Linked DNA regions of Homo sapiens: all the other regions are linked to region 3. The links are contacts of gene promoters, found by promoter capture Hi-C in human tissues and cell types (Jung and others, 2019). All regions are on one chromosome and are shown on one strand. The core of a region is centred on a gene start or on the middle of the fragment in contact, and the rest is flanking DNA. Distances in the headings are between cores, read along the strand shown.

Evidence for each region. Contacts are between HindIII fragments. The study calls those that stand out against the background at their distance.
Region 1: a fragment that was not itself captured here is called in contact with the fragment with the promoter of CABLES1 in region 3 in 1 of the 25 tissues and cell types used here (spleen).
Region 2: a contact is called between a fragment that was not itself captured here and the fragment with the promoter of CABLES1 in region 3, in 1 of the 25 tissues and cell types used here (lymphoblastoid cells).
Region 4: a contact is called between a fragment that was not itself captured here and the fragment with the promoter of CABLES1 in region 3, in 1 of the 25 tissues and cell types used here (mesenchymal stem cells).

Annotation. Positions count from the first base shown.
Region 1 is chr18:22,993,459-22,996,207 of GRCh38, reverse strand. It overlaps RBBP8 (RB binding protein 8, endonuclease), which reads right to left. Exons shown (of 19, transcript NM_002894.3): 11 at 2,569-2,749; 12 at 2,361-2,487. Among named protein-coding and RNA genes, the nearest start is that of RBBP8-AS1, 61 kb to the right of the region's middle. The HindIII fragment of the contact is 5,082 bases long and covers 1-2,749 here.
Region 2 is chr18:22,967,083-22,970,095 of GRCh38, reverse strand. It overlaps RBBP8 (RB binding protein 8, endonuclease), which reads right to left. Exons shown (of 19, transcript NM_002894.3): 5 at 1,178-1,290. Among named protein-coding and RNA genes, the nearest start is that of RBBP8-AS1, 35 kb to the right of the region's middle. The HindIII fragment of the contact is 4,619 bases long and covers 1-3,013 here.
Region 3 is chr18:23,134,119-23,137,072 of GRCh38, reverse strand. It overlaps CABLES1 (Cdk5 and Abl enzyme substrate 1), which reads right to left and starts at 1,588. Exons shown (of 10, transcript NM_001100619.3): 1 at 466-1,588. The coding sequence starts at 1,310. RefSeq lists silencers at 720-969, 1,070-1,279, 1,410-1,619, 1,740-1,819, 2,580-2,689 and 3 more and an enhancer at 2,240-2,389. The HindIII fragment of the contact is 17,284 bases long and covers 1-2,954 here.
Region 4 is chr18:22,942,245-22,945,137 of GRCh38, reverse strand. The region is part of intron 2 of RBBP8 (RB binding protein 8, endonuclease); the gene reads right to left. Among named protein-coding and RNA genes, the nearest start is that of RBBP8-AS1, 9.9 kb to the right of the region's middle. The HindIII fragment of the contact is 3,388 bases long and covers 1-2,893 here.

The DNA of each region.
Region 1 (2,749 bases), core at 118-2,617, 140 kb after region 3:
GACAAATATCCCAATTAAAGATGGGCAAAGGATCTAAATAGACAGTTCTCCAAAGAAGATATACAAATTGCCAATAAACATGAAAGGATGCTCAACATCATCAGCAGTCAAGGAAATGCAAACCAAAACCACGAGATGGCAAAAATCAAAAAGCTATAACAAGTGCTAGTGAGGAGGTGGAGATACTGGGACCCTCACATACTGCTGGTGGGAATGTGAAATGGTGTAGCTGCTTTGGAAAACAGGCAGTCTTTCAAAAGGTAAAATGTAGAATTGGCATATGGCCCAACAATTCCACTCCTAGGTATAATCCAAGAAAAATGAAAACATACATCCACACAAAAACCTGTATACAAATGTTCATAGCAGCATTGTTCATAATAGCAAAAAAGTGACAACTTGAATGTCAGCTAATAAATACCTAAAATATGGTATACTTATGCAATAAAAAATTATCCAATAAAAAGAAATAAAATATTGATATATGCTGTAACACAGATAACTGAAAACATTATGCCAAGTGAAAGAAGTAACAAAAGATCATATATTAAACGATTCCATTTATATGAAAACTCCCAGAATAGGCAAATCTACAAAGAGAGAAAGTAGATTTAAGGTGCCTAGGACTGCAGAGGGTATATGGGGAAGGAAAGTGATGAAAATGTTGTAAACCTAGACTACAGTGATGGTTGTACAACTCTGTGGGTATACCAAACCACTGAATTGAACATTTTAATGGGTGATTTTTATGGTATGTGATTTATATTTCAATTAAAATTTTTTAAAATTAAAAACTATAACATTGATGGGGTTTTCAATATATGTAGATAAAATACACAGGAACTACATAAAGTGTAGTTACAGAACATGAAATAGTACATTAACTCCAAGTAGATTGTAAAAGGCTAAGTAGGTAGATACTGTAATCCCTAGAGCAACCATGAAAAAAATAAAAACAAAAAGCTCAAAAAAAATCATGAATGATAGTGAAAAAAATGTTTTCATATAGAGACTAAAACACTCACTGGAAAAACAACTAATGACTGTGCTTCAGGAAAAAGGGAAAATAAACCCAGAATAAAGGAATAACTTGCCAATGAAGAATACAAGAAAAAATACTGCACTTGAACTACAGAAATGTTTGGTGGCTGAAAAAAAAAATTACTTTTTTAAAGATAGCAGGCTGGGCGTGGGTGGTTCACACCTGTAATCCCAGCACTTTGGGAGGCCAAGGCAGGCAGATGGCTTGAGTCCAGTAGTTCGAGACCAACCTGGGCAACAAGGCGAAACCCAGTCACTTCAAAAAATAAAAAAATCAGCTGGGTGTGGTGGTGCATGCTTGTAGTCCCAGCTATCCAGGGGGCTGAGATGGGAGGATCCACCTGAGCCTGGGAGGTCAAGGCTGCAAGTGAGCCGTGATCATGCCACTGCACTCCAGTCTGGGTGACAGAGTAGGACCCTGTCTCAAATAATAATAATAATAATAATAAAATATAGCAAAATTATGAAAAGATGCCTATATATCTTAAGGCAAACAATTTTTTTTTTCTTTTTTTTTTTTGAGACGGAGTCTTGCTCTGTCACCCAGGCTGGAGTGCAGTGCAGTGGCACGATCTCGGCTCACTGCAAGCTCCACCTCCCGGGTTCACACCATTCTCCTGCCTCAGCCTCCCGAATAGCTGGGACTACAGGCGCCTGCCACCATGCCTGGCTTATTTTTTGTGTTTTTAGTAGAGATGGGGTTTCACCACGTTAGCCAGGATGGTCTCGATCTCCTGACATCGTGATCCACCAGCGTCGGCCTCCCAAAGTGCTGGGATTACAGGTGTGAGCCACCGTACCGGGCCAACAATGTTTTTAAAGGAGTTTAAAAACGTATATAAGTGGCCGGGCGCAGTGACTCACGCCTGTAATCCCAGCACTTTGGGAGGCCGACGCTGGTGGATCACGATGTCAGGAGATCTAGACCATCCTGGCTAATGTGGTGAAACCCCGTCTCTACTAAAAATACAAAAAAAAAAAATTAGCCGGGCATGGTGGGCGCCTATAGTCCCAGCTACTCGGGAGGCTGAGGCAGGAGAATGGTGTGAACCCGGGAGGCGGAGCTTGCAGTGAGCCGAGATCGCGCCACTGCACTCCAGCCTGGGCGACAGAGCGAGACTCCGTCTCAAAAAAAAAAAAAAAAAAAAAAAAGAACAGAAAAATCACCGGTAAAATGTGAGAATCGTCCTATAAATACAGACACCTGAAGGAAGAAATAAGTTTTTTTCCAAAACAATTCAATCTATTTAAAAAAGTAAATAATGACATTCAATCTGAAGTCATTAAAAAAGTGGAGATCCTGTTTATGGTGTACACACCTTGGTTGTTTTGTAGAGACTTTATTTTACCAGTTCTACATGGATTTAACTGAAGAACTGATGCAAGTTCACATCCTCCATGGTCTGACCTGGTTTGTATTTTTATTGGCTCATGAGAACCAGCACTCTAAAACAGAAATAATTGTTAGCTCTAAATGAAATCACAAGCAATCATTTTAATCAAAATCCTTGAACATTTAACACAAACCTTTATGTCATCTAAAACATTCTCAGTCTCCAAACTTTCACGTGGACGTAGAGGAATTTTAAAGACAGCATTTTCTTCTTTTATTTGTAATGATGGTTTATTGTCTGGAGAGCATTTATTCAAGGGCTGAAGGATGATGCATTCCTGTGAACAGGGCTCCCCTGGGGAATCTTTGGGCAAC
Region 2 (3,013 bases), core at 441-2,940, 170 kb after region 3:
AGAGATGATTTAAAGTATGCAAGAGAATGTGGGTAGGTTATATGCGAATACTATGTGACTTTATATAAGGTACTTGAGCATCCAAGGATTTTGGTATGCGTCAGGGTCCTGGAACCAATACCCTACAGATGACAAGGAACAACTACATATTTATTGAGATGTAACAATTTTCTACTCATTGATAATATTCTTACATTCCTAAATAAATGTATGCACACGTTCACCCATATACACCACAGAATCTATAGACATATTAACATGTAAAGACTTCCAAGACATAGTCTAAAGTGAAGTAACACATTAGAACACAAAGTATGGTATGATAACATTAAAATTCAAAAGAGAAGGGAGGGAAGCGGGGTCTAACAAGGCACAGAGACAGAAAAACCTGGACCTGGACAGATATGTATCAGACTATTAACAGTAGTTACCTCTGGGAGCAGAATAAAGCTATATTCTTTCTTACCTCTTTTAAAAACAATGAGCATATATTCAATATTCTTGCTTGAATAACCACAGGGTAGCAATATAATTAACAGAAAAAAATAAAAGACAGAATTAGTTTGGAAAAGAAGATAATTAATTAGATTTTGAATATATTGATTGTGAGTTGCTTATGGGAAATCCAGGTAATGGTCACCAAAAGAAATAAATAGTTATAAGAGAATAAGGTTAACAGAAGTATTAAAAGAATAAAAGAAGGCGGCTAAGAATGTAGAAAAACTCTACACTCAATAGGTAAGGAGAATAAACTGAAAATAGTATACTTATGAAAACAGTATGTCATAAATACCAAGAGAGAAAACAAGTGTAGAACAATAAATTGTCTGCTTTGTATTTAACTTTACTAAGTATTAAGGTTACATGAAATAAAGATTAAAACCAAAGAAGCAAATATGGACATGTCCAAAAAAAAAAAACACCACCTGCTTCTTGTCTTACAACTGATGACTTAAGACCAATGTGGACAGTATTTGCACAACCTTTTTGTACCCTATTTCTTACTAAATTAAGCATGAGATTAAATCTACAAAAAGTACAAAAAAGGACATTTGAACTTTTACTAAATAAGGAAAAATATATGTAAACCATCCATTTAATTACAACCAATTTACTAATAGGTCTTAAAAATAATACATTACATACTTTAAATAATAAATGAAGAAAGGAAACTCACTAAGTTCTGTAATAAGTTTAAGATTCTGCTGCCGGATATTTTCAAACTCTTGCTGTTTTTTCCGCATATGTTCTTCAGTTACTGCACAGCGATCACATAAGCCTGCTCTTAACCTATGAAACAAAACAAGGTATTTTTCATCCACTAAAAGAGATTTCCTTCTTTGGAATTCCAAGACTTTTATAAAGATTTAAGGAACTGACTTGGCAAATACTGTGAAAATCAACTAGATTAATGATGTTATTATACCTTTAACATATTCTTATATAGGCTGAAATCATGTTATACCACCATTTTCTTCAGATTGCAATTCTATAAAAATCTGCCAATTTTAAACTCATGCTAAGGGAACTTATTTATTGAAGAAGCTGACCTTGTTTTAATTTGTTATGGTCAAAATATGAACCCTAGTCTAATACCAAGGGGTAGAATTATACCTGAAGCAACTTTGCAGCTGCTTTGCTCAGCACAGTATGTCACCCATAGTGAGTGTTCAATAATATTTTTGATGAAAAATTAAATTCATCAAAATTTATTTGCCAATCATTGGCAGGGCACAGTGGCTCATGCCTGTAATCTTAGCCCTCTGGGAGGCTGCGGCGACAGGATCATGAGGTCAGGAGTTCAAGACCAGCCTGGCCAATACAGTAAACACCGTCTCTACTAAAAAATACAAAAATTAGCCAGCTGTGGTGGTGCTCGCTTGTAGTCCCAGCTACTCGGGAGGCTGAGGCAGAAGAATCGCTTGAACCCGGGAGGTGGAGGTTGCAGTGAGCTGAGATCATGCCACTGCACTCCAGCCTGGGGGACAGAGCAAGACTCTGACTCAAAAAAAAAAAAAATTTTTTTTTGTCAATATTGTTGAATAAAGGTCAAGAAATACAAGGGAGAAAAAGTCACCTCATATTTTCCTTTTGGCATTAAAAAAATTATTAGTAAAAATTCACAATGTATTACATAAAAAAAATTACAGGCTGGGCACAGTGGCTCACGCCTGTAATCCCAACACTTTGGGAGGCCGAGGCGGGCGGAACACAAGGTCAGGAGATCGAGACAACCCTGGCTATCACAGTGAAACCCCTGTCTCTACTAAAAATACAAAAAATTAGCTGTGCGTGGTGGCGGGCACCTGTAGTCCCAGCTACTCGGGAGGCTGAGGCAGGAGAATGGCGTGAGCCTGGGAGGCGGAGCTTGCAGTGAGCTGAGATTGCACCACTGCACTCCAGCCTGGGTGACAAAGCGAGACTCCGTCTCAAAAAAAAAAAAAAAAAAATACGAAATAGCTTTTACTAATTATTTGTGACTGTTGAAGAGAAAAACACATATCACACAAGCAGGTGAGGAAGAGTTATATTCCAAAATGTTAATAATAGTTATCTTGTAGGTGACAGTATTATGGGAGATTTTCTCTTCTTCATTTTCCATATTTTTGAAACATTTTCCAATTTCATTATTTACCTAATCAGAAAAAAATACAGTTAAAAAGGAGACACATACCCCACGTTAAGAATTCAGGAAATAAATTCGAAGATAATTGTTTTTTTTTTTTTTTTGAGACGGAGTCCTGCTCTGTCACCCAGGCTGGAGTGCAGTGGCGCAATCTCAGCTCACTGCAAGCTCCGCCTCCTGGGTTCACACCATTCTCCTGCCTCAGTCTCCCGAGTAGCTGGGACTACCGGTGCCCGCCACCTCTCCTGGCTAATTTTTTGTATTTTTCATAGAGATGGGGTTTCACTGAGTTAGCCAGGATGGTCTCGATCTCCCAACCTCGTGATCCGCTTGCTTCCGCCTCCCAAAGTGCTGGGATTACAGGCGTGAGCCGCTGCACCTGGCCCA
Region 3 (2,954 bases), core at 339-2,838:
TTCTCCGGAGGGTCACGCGTGTCTGCTACAAGTTCAGGCTCACACGCGCCGCTCAGCTGCCGGCCTGCACTGCTCCACTCTGCGCCCGGCCGAGTCTCGCCCCACGCGGGGAAGAGTGCGCCTCCGGGTCTGGACCGGGTTTCAGGAAGTTTGTGATCTCGTGTGGGGAGGCTCGGACGCCGCTTTCTACTGGGCTCCTGCAACTCCCAATTCCCGACCCACTGCACAAGCGCGGTGCTCCTCTGCGAATGCTGGGCTCGTGCAAACACGTGTAACCCCGCACTCCCTGGGGACGCCCCCTCTTTTGGGTGCCCTCGTGGTTTGGGATTCGGGCCCGGAGCACAGGATCCGGCAGGGCGCGGGAAAATGGGAGCAACCCGTGTCCCGTAGCCCAGAGACCGCGGGGAGGCTGGGAGCGCCGGGCGGGACGCAGGGTTGGGTGCGCGTCGCATCCCGGATACTCACCGGGACCTCTGCAGCTGCTCGAAGGCGCTGGTGCTGCCGCCCTGGCCTGGCTGCTCCAGGGAGCAGTAGTTCTGCGAAGTCGGCCTGGAGAAGGCGATGGGCAGGATTCCCTGAGTGAACGAGTTGAGGCGTCCCCGACTGCCGCTCCCACTCCCGGGGGTCCCGGAGCCCAAAAAGGCGGCCGCCGGCACCTGCACGCTGATAAAGGCATCGTCCTCCTCCAACTCCTCCTGCCCGGCGGCCCCGGACCCGTCGAGCAGCTGCAGTTGGGCACAGGCGGCGAGAGGCGCCGGCCGGGGCGGCTGCCACTGCTCCCCCGACGCCCGGCCGGCGCCCAGGGGACTCGCGAACCCCCGCGCCACCCCGGGGCCGGACACGGTCGCATGGCCGCCAGGAATCAAGGGCGGCAGCGACGAGGGCTGTGGGAGGCAGGGGCCGGACCCAGCGGCTAACCCCGCAGCCGGCGTGCCCGGCGCGGCGAGCGCGATGCAGCCGCCCCGCTCGGCAGCGGCGAGCAAGCTGAACCGAGTCCTCGCGCCGCAGGCGCCGCCGGCGCCCGGCTTGGCCGCGCCGCCCTCCTCGCCACCGCCCCACTCCGCGTCCTGCGGCGGCAGCCGGCCGTCCAGCGAGATGTTGGTGAGGAAGGAGAGGGCAGCCTGGCGGCGCCGCGGGTCCATGCGCGGCTTCCGGGGGGGTTCGGGCGGCGGCTGGGCCGGCGCGGCGGCCGCGGGCTGAGGCTGGGGCTGCGGCGGCGGCTGCTGCAATCCGCTGGCGCCCGCGGCGTCGGTGCCGGCGCTGCCGCTGCTGCAGGCGGCCGTGGTGGCGGCCGCCGCCGCCGCCGCCATTGTGTCCGTCTGCGGCGGGATTTCCGCGATGCCCGGAGAAGCGAGCGGCGCCCGAGCGCTAAGCGGCGGGCGCGAGCGGCGGCGACCCGGGCTGGGTAGGGCGCGGGGATCGGGCGGCGTGCGCGGCGGTCCAGCCCCCCCGCGGGCGGGCCATGCTCGCCCCTCGGTGCTGGGGATGGGGGCGCCGCCGCCCCGGCCCACGCGCACGCCTCGCTACCTAGCTCGGCTAGTTCGGCTCGCTGGCTGGCCGCCCGCCGGTCGCCTGGCCGCTGGCTCGCGGGCTCCGGGGCCGGGTGTCCGTATTTATAGGTGCGCGCGCCCCGCGCTCGCGCTCCAAAGCCCTCTTTGCAATAACACGGAATCACGTGTGGGGAATGCGACCTGGGAGGAAAACAAAGCCGCAGGCGGCGGCCGCAGAGGCAGACGGCGGGAGGCAAGGGGCCACGGGAGGAGGAAGAGGAGGACGCGAGAGCCGAGCGGGTGGTGGGGCGGGGGATCGGCCCGGCTGTCCGGGTTGTCGGAGCTGCCTGCTGGGAGAGTTGGCGACTCCCGGGGCCGCGGAAGCCAGGTGCGGGAGGCGAGCACGTTTCCCCCGCGCGCTCGCACTGGGAATTGGGTGAGCGAGCAGAACCCGGTGGGTTAGGTCCTGGGGCTGTGCTCCTGGGAGAGTTGTGGGTCTACAGGACGGTTATGTGGAGCGTTGCAGAGTTTTGGACTGCGAGCGAGTTACTTGGACCCCGCAAGGCCGTTGGTCCCCGAGAAGTAAATAGATCCTTTTCATAATAACACGGGTAAGTCCACAGCCCCTATGGAGACTGTCCCACCGTAAAGCTATCGCTAACAACCATTGCAGTTGGGTCTATTCATTCCCAGGCCAAGGATGCAGCCCCCGGGATAAATGCACGCCTTGGGATGCATAAGAGCCCAGAAGCACGAACATCTTACATGTGGCCAACGAACTCACGCATCCCCAATCCATGGTATTGTCACTTTTCATCTCTCTCTTAGCAAAGGACAACGCAAATTTTTTACTTTGGCTCTGAAATGTGCTCCATTTTCTGTGAAGACCCAGGTGGGCTAAAATGACCTTACACTCTTTTCCCCTGGTCACCTTGCAAATTTTTGTAGATTATGATCTCTTCTCCCTCATAAACTGGGACCAATGTGGACAGTTACCCTGTCGTTTATCTCATAAGCACGTTTGGCACCTACCATGTCTTCTATAAATACGGGTTCCTGACGGCCCTCCCAGAGCAGTAGCTCTGAATCTGGGAGGAGTCGCAGTCCCCACCCACAACGAATGCTTGTTTTGGTTGGGGGTGGGGGCGGGGGCGGGGACAGGGTGGAGGAGTTCACCTGGAGGGATCTGAAAACGTGTGCGGGTTTCCCCAGGCGGTATGGGCAACTTAACAAATGCAGTAAGGAACAATTGCCACACTGAATTAAGCTCTGTGACACCTAAGAAACCTGCTGCACTTTTGAGGGAGAAGCAATGTGTTTCAGATCAACGGATTAATTTAATTAAAGGTTTAAATTTAGCCCTGGAGCTAATGGGTAACTCTACATTGAAATTCCACTCCATTTCAAGTTCAGGAAAGTAAATTGAGTAATGGAGAGCAAATACACCGTCCAGAGAGGTGCCGC
Region 4 (2,893 bases), core at 268-2,767, 190 kb after region 3:
GGCAGTTAGTTACCAATAAATAATTACTAGTTGACTGATTTCCGAAGAACCCAAGAATATTTACTATATGCCTTTGGTAGTTCACAGATTCTATCAAGTTATAAATCAGAAAAGTTTTTCATATATGTGTATAGAAACATTAATATATTTATCATTCCTAAGAACATAATTTTTCTTTATTTGTTAAACTTGATACAATCTTTTGGACAACATAATTTAGACAAATACAAATTTTAAAAACAAACCTATACATTTCCCAACCATGGTCACATAGACACTAAAGAAGAAGTCATCTCTTCTTATTGCCCTCCATAGTAATGATTTATTGCCAGGAAATCCATATACTGTGGAAAAATAAAGGCCCTGGAGAATTTTTTGGATGTTACATTTTTTCCTTATGTCTCAAATTTCACCTTTAGAAAATGTCCAACTGATATGACACATTTTATCTTCGATTCTATGCTCTATAATTTGAATAAATAAAATGTTATAAATAAGATGGTGAAAAAAATGTTACAGATAAACCTGTATTGAATGTTCACAGCAGTCTTAGCCAAACATTAGAAACAACCCAAACATCCTTCAATAAGTGAGTTGTTTAAAAAACCAAAACCTGTGGTGCATCCATGCACATGTTTTCCCTTCTCAAAAATGTGCGAAATTTTACTTGACAGATTTTTTTTTTGTTTTTAATTTTGGCTGACTTCTAACAATCAGTTCTGCCTTTAAAAGTGAAAAGTGCAGCCAAAGATGAAATGGATTCTTGCCACAAACCATTTTAAGAAAAGAAACAATGAGACAGAAAATCCATATAAACTTCAAAAGAAAATCCTTGGGAAACAGGGGAAGAACTACTCTTTTATCTGGTAAGCATTCAACACCTGTGAGGCATTTGTTCTGTCACGTAGATCACCCTGAAACAGGTTTATATGTGTATATGTGTGTGTGTTTAAATTTTAGCATTTGCTATTCACCAAGTCAATTAGGAATCTACAATTAGAACCCCTATAAAGTGTGCTTTAATCCTGCTCCACACCCATCGGAAGGAATGAGGCTATACAACAATGTAGCTCCTGTATGAACAGGTAATCTGTTGAACAAAGTATCTGGGATTGTAACACTGGCAACCTAAGATACCTATTGAGGAAACAGTGTTCACAAGACCAAGCACTGTGCTACAATTAACCTTACACACACTCATACATAAATTTTGGAGGAAATGAAACAATCAAGGGCCTGTATATTGTAATACACAAAGCAAATTTAAGAGTTCAGAAATGAGGCAAGAATTCCTTATGCATTAACAAAAATCACTGCTATGTTCTTATTTTAGTTCTTTACCCAGACCAAACCATATATATATATAAAATGTATGTACTGTCATTTTAAACAAGTTATTTATGGTTCTGAATTATAAATAATACCCCTAACATCACTTTCTTGACAAACAGTGGGGGCTTTATATACAAATGAAGTAATTAAACTTCAACCAAAACTACTACTGCTAGCATTTCTATAATTGCCTAACAAATTATTTAAATTCCAAAGCCATACTTAAGCTGTGCTCACTTTGCTTAAGATTGAATTATCTCAAAATGGGTAAATTAATTTTTGTGGATTTTATTATTTACAGATGTGAATGCAAATAAAAAATAAAAGGTGTGAGAGTTACTGATAATAATAATAATATTATTATTATTTTTGAGACAGGATTTCTGTCACCCAGGCTGGGGTGCAGTGGTGCAATCACGGCTCACTGTAGCCTTGACTTACCAGGCCCAAGCGATCCTCCTGCCTCAACCTCTCAAGTAGCTGGGACCACAGGCACACACCACCATGCCTAGCTAATTAAAAAAATGTTTTTTGTAGAGACAGGGTCTCGCTTTGTTGTCCAGGCTGGTCTCAGACTCCCGGACTCAAGTAATCCTCCTGCCTTGGCCTCCCAAGTGTGTGCCACTGTGCCCAGCCTGACAGCATTCTTAATAATGAGTGGGACAATTCCTTTCACTGTTAATTTGTGCAGTCTTAAGATAATGTTCTCTTTTTAGAATTTTTGATTCTATGTATAGAAAATAAATGGAGCAATTAAAAAATGAATCAAGAAATATTTATCCTGTCCTATTAGAGCCCCCAAACTTTCCCATTTCTTCAAGGTGTTTCAACTTTGCCTCACAAAACCTACCTAGTTTTCTTTGAAACTGATTACCATATTTACTAGACACAGAAAATATATTAGCTAGATGTTAATAGCAGACGCTGGCATAGGCAAAAGATCATTTATTAAAATAGTGGTATTCTGAAAATAAATATTTTAAATTCTATTTTATTATTTGTGCTTTTGATAATAAACTTGATACTGAAAAAGATTTTTAAAGGCAATAAAATTTTGTACCCAAATAAATATGCTTTAAAACTTTTGAAATTTAAAGAATTCTGAAGTTTCCATTAAATTCTGTGAGTTCGGAATTTAAAGCATAAACACTGTATATCATCAGTAACAATCTGTGACACTGATACTAGCAGCATTTGTCACAAAAGGAACATATCATGAAATGATACAATCATGAAAGGATAAAATTATCTTAAAGGATATAAAAACTCGGTCATAAATGTCTCCAGAATTTTTCAACAAAAATGGTCTGGTTTGCATATTGCTAGTCTCCAACAGAAATTAGAGCATTTTGTCTATTCTTGCCTAGTTTTAAAAGACATGGATGCAGTTTATTATATTGTTGTGATCAGTGCACATACTGTCATATTTTGCTATCATTTTATTATGTTTTGGCAAAAGAGGCAAAAATAATTCTAAACACGTGTAGCAGAGCATTCAGATTCAAGCAAGTTCCTATGGGTACATTTCTGTAGCTAAGTAAAAACTATATATCTCAAATAT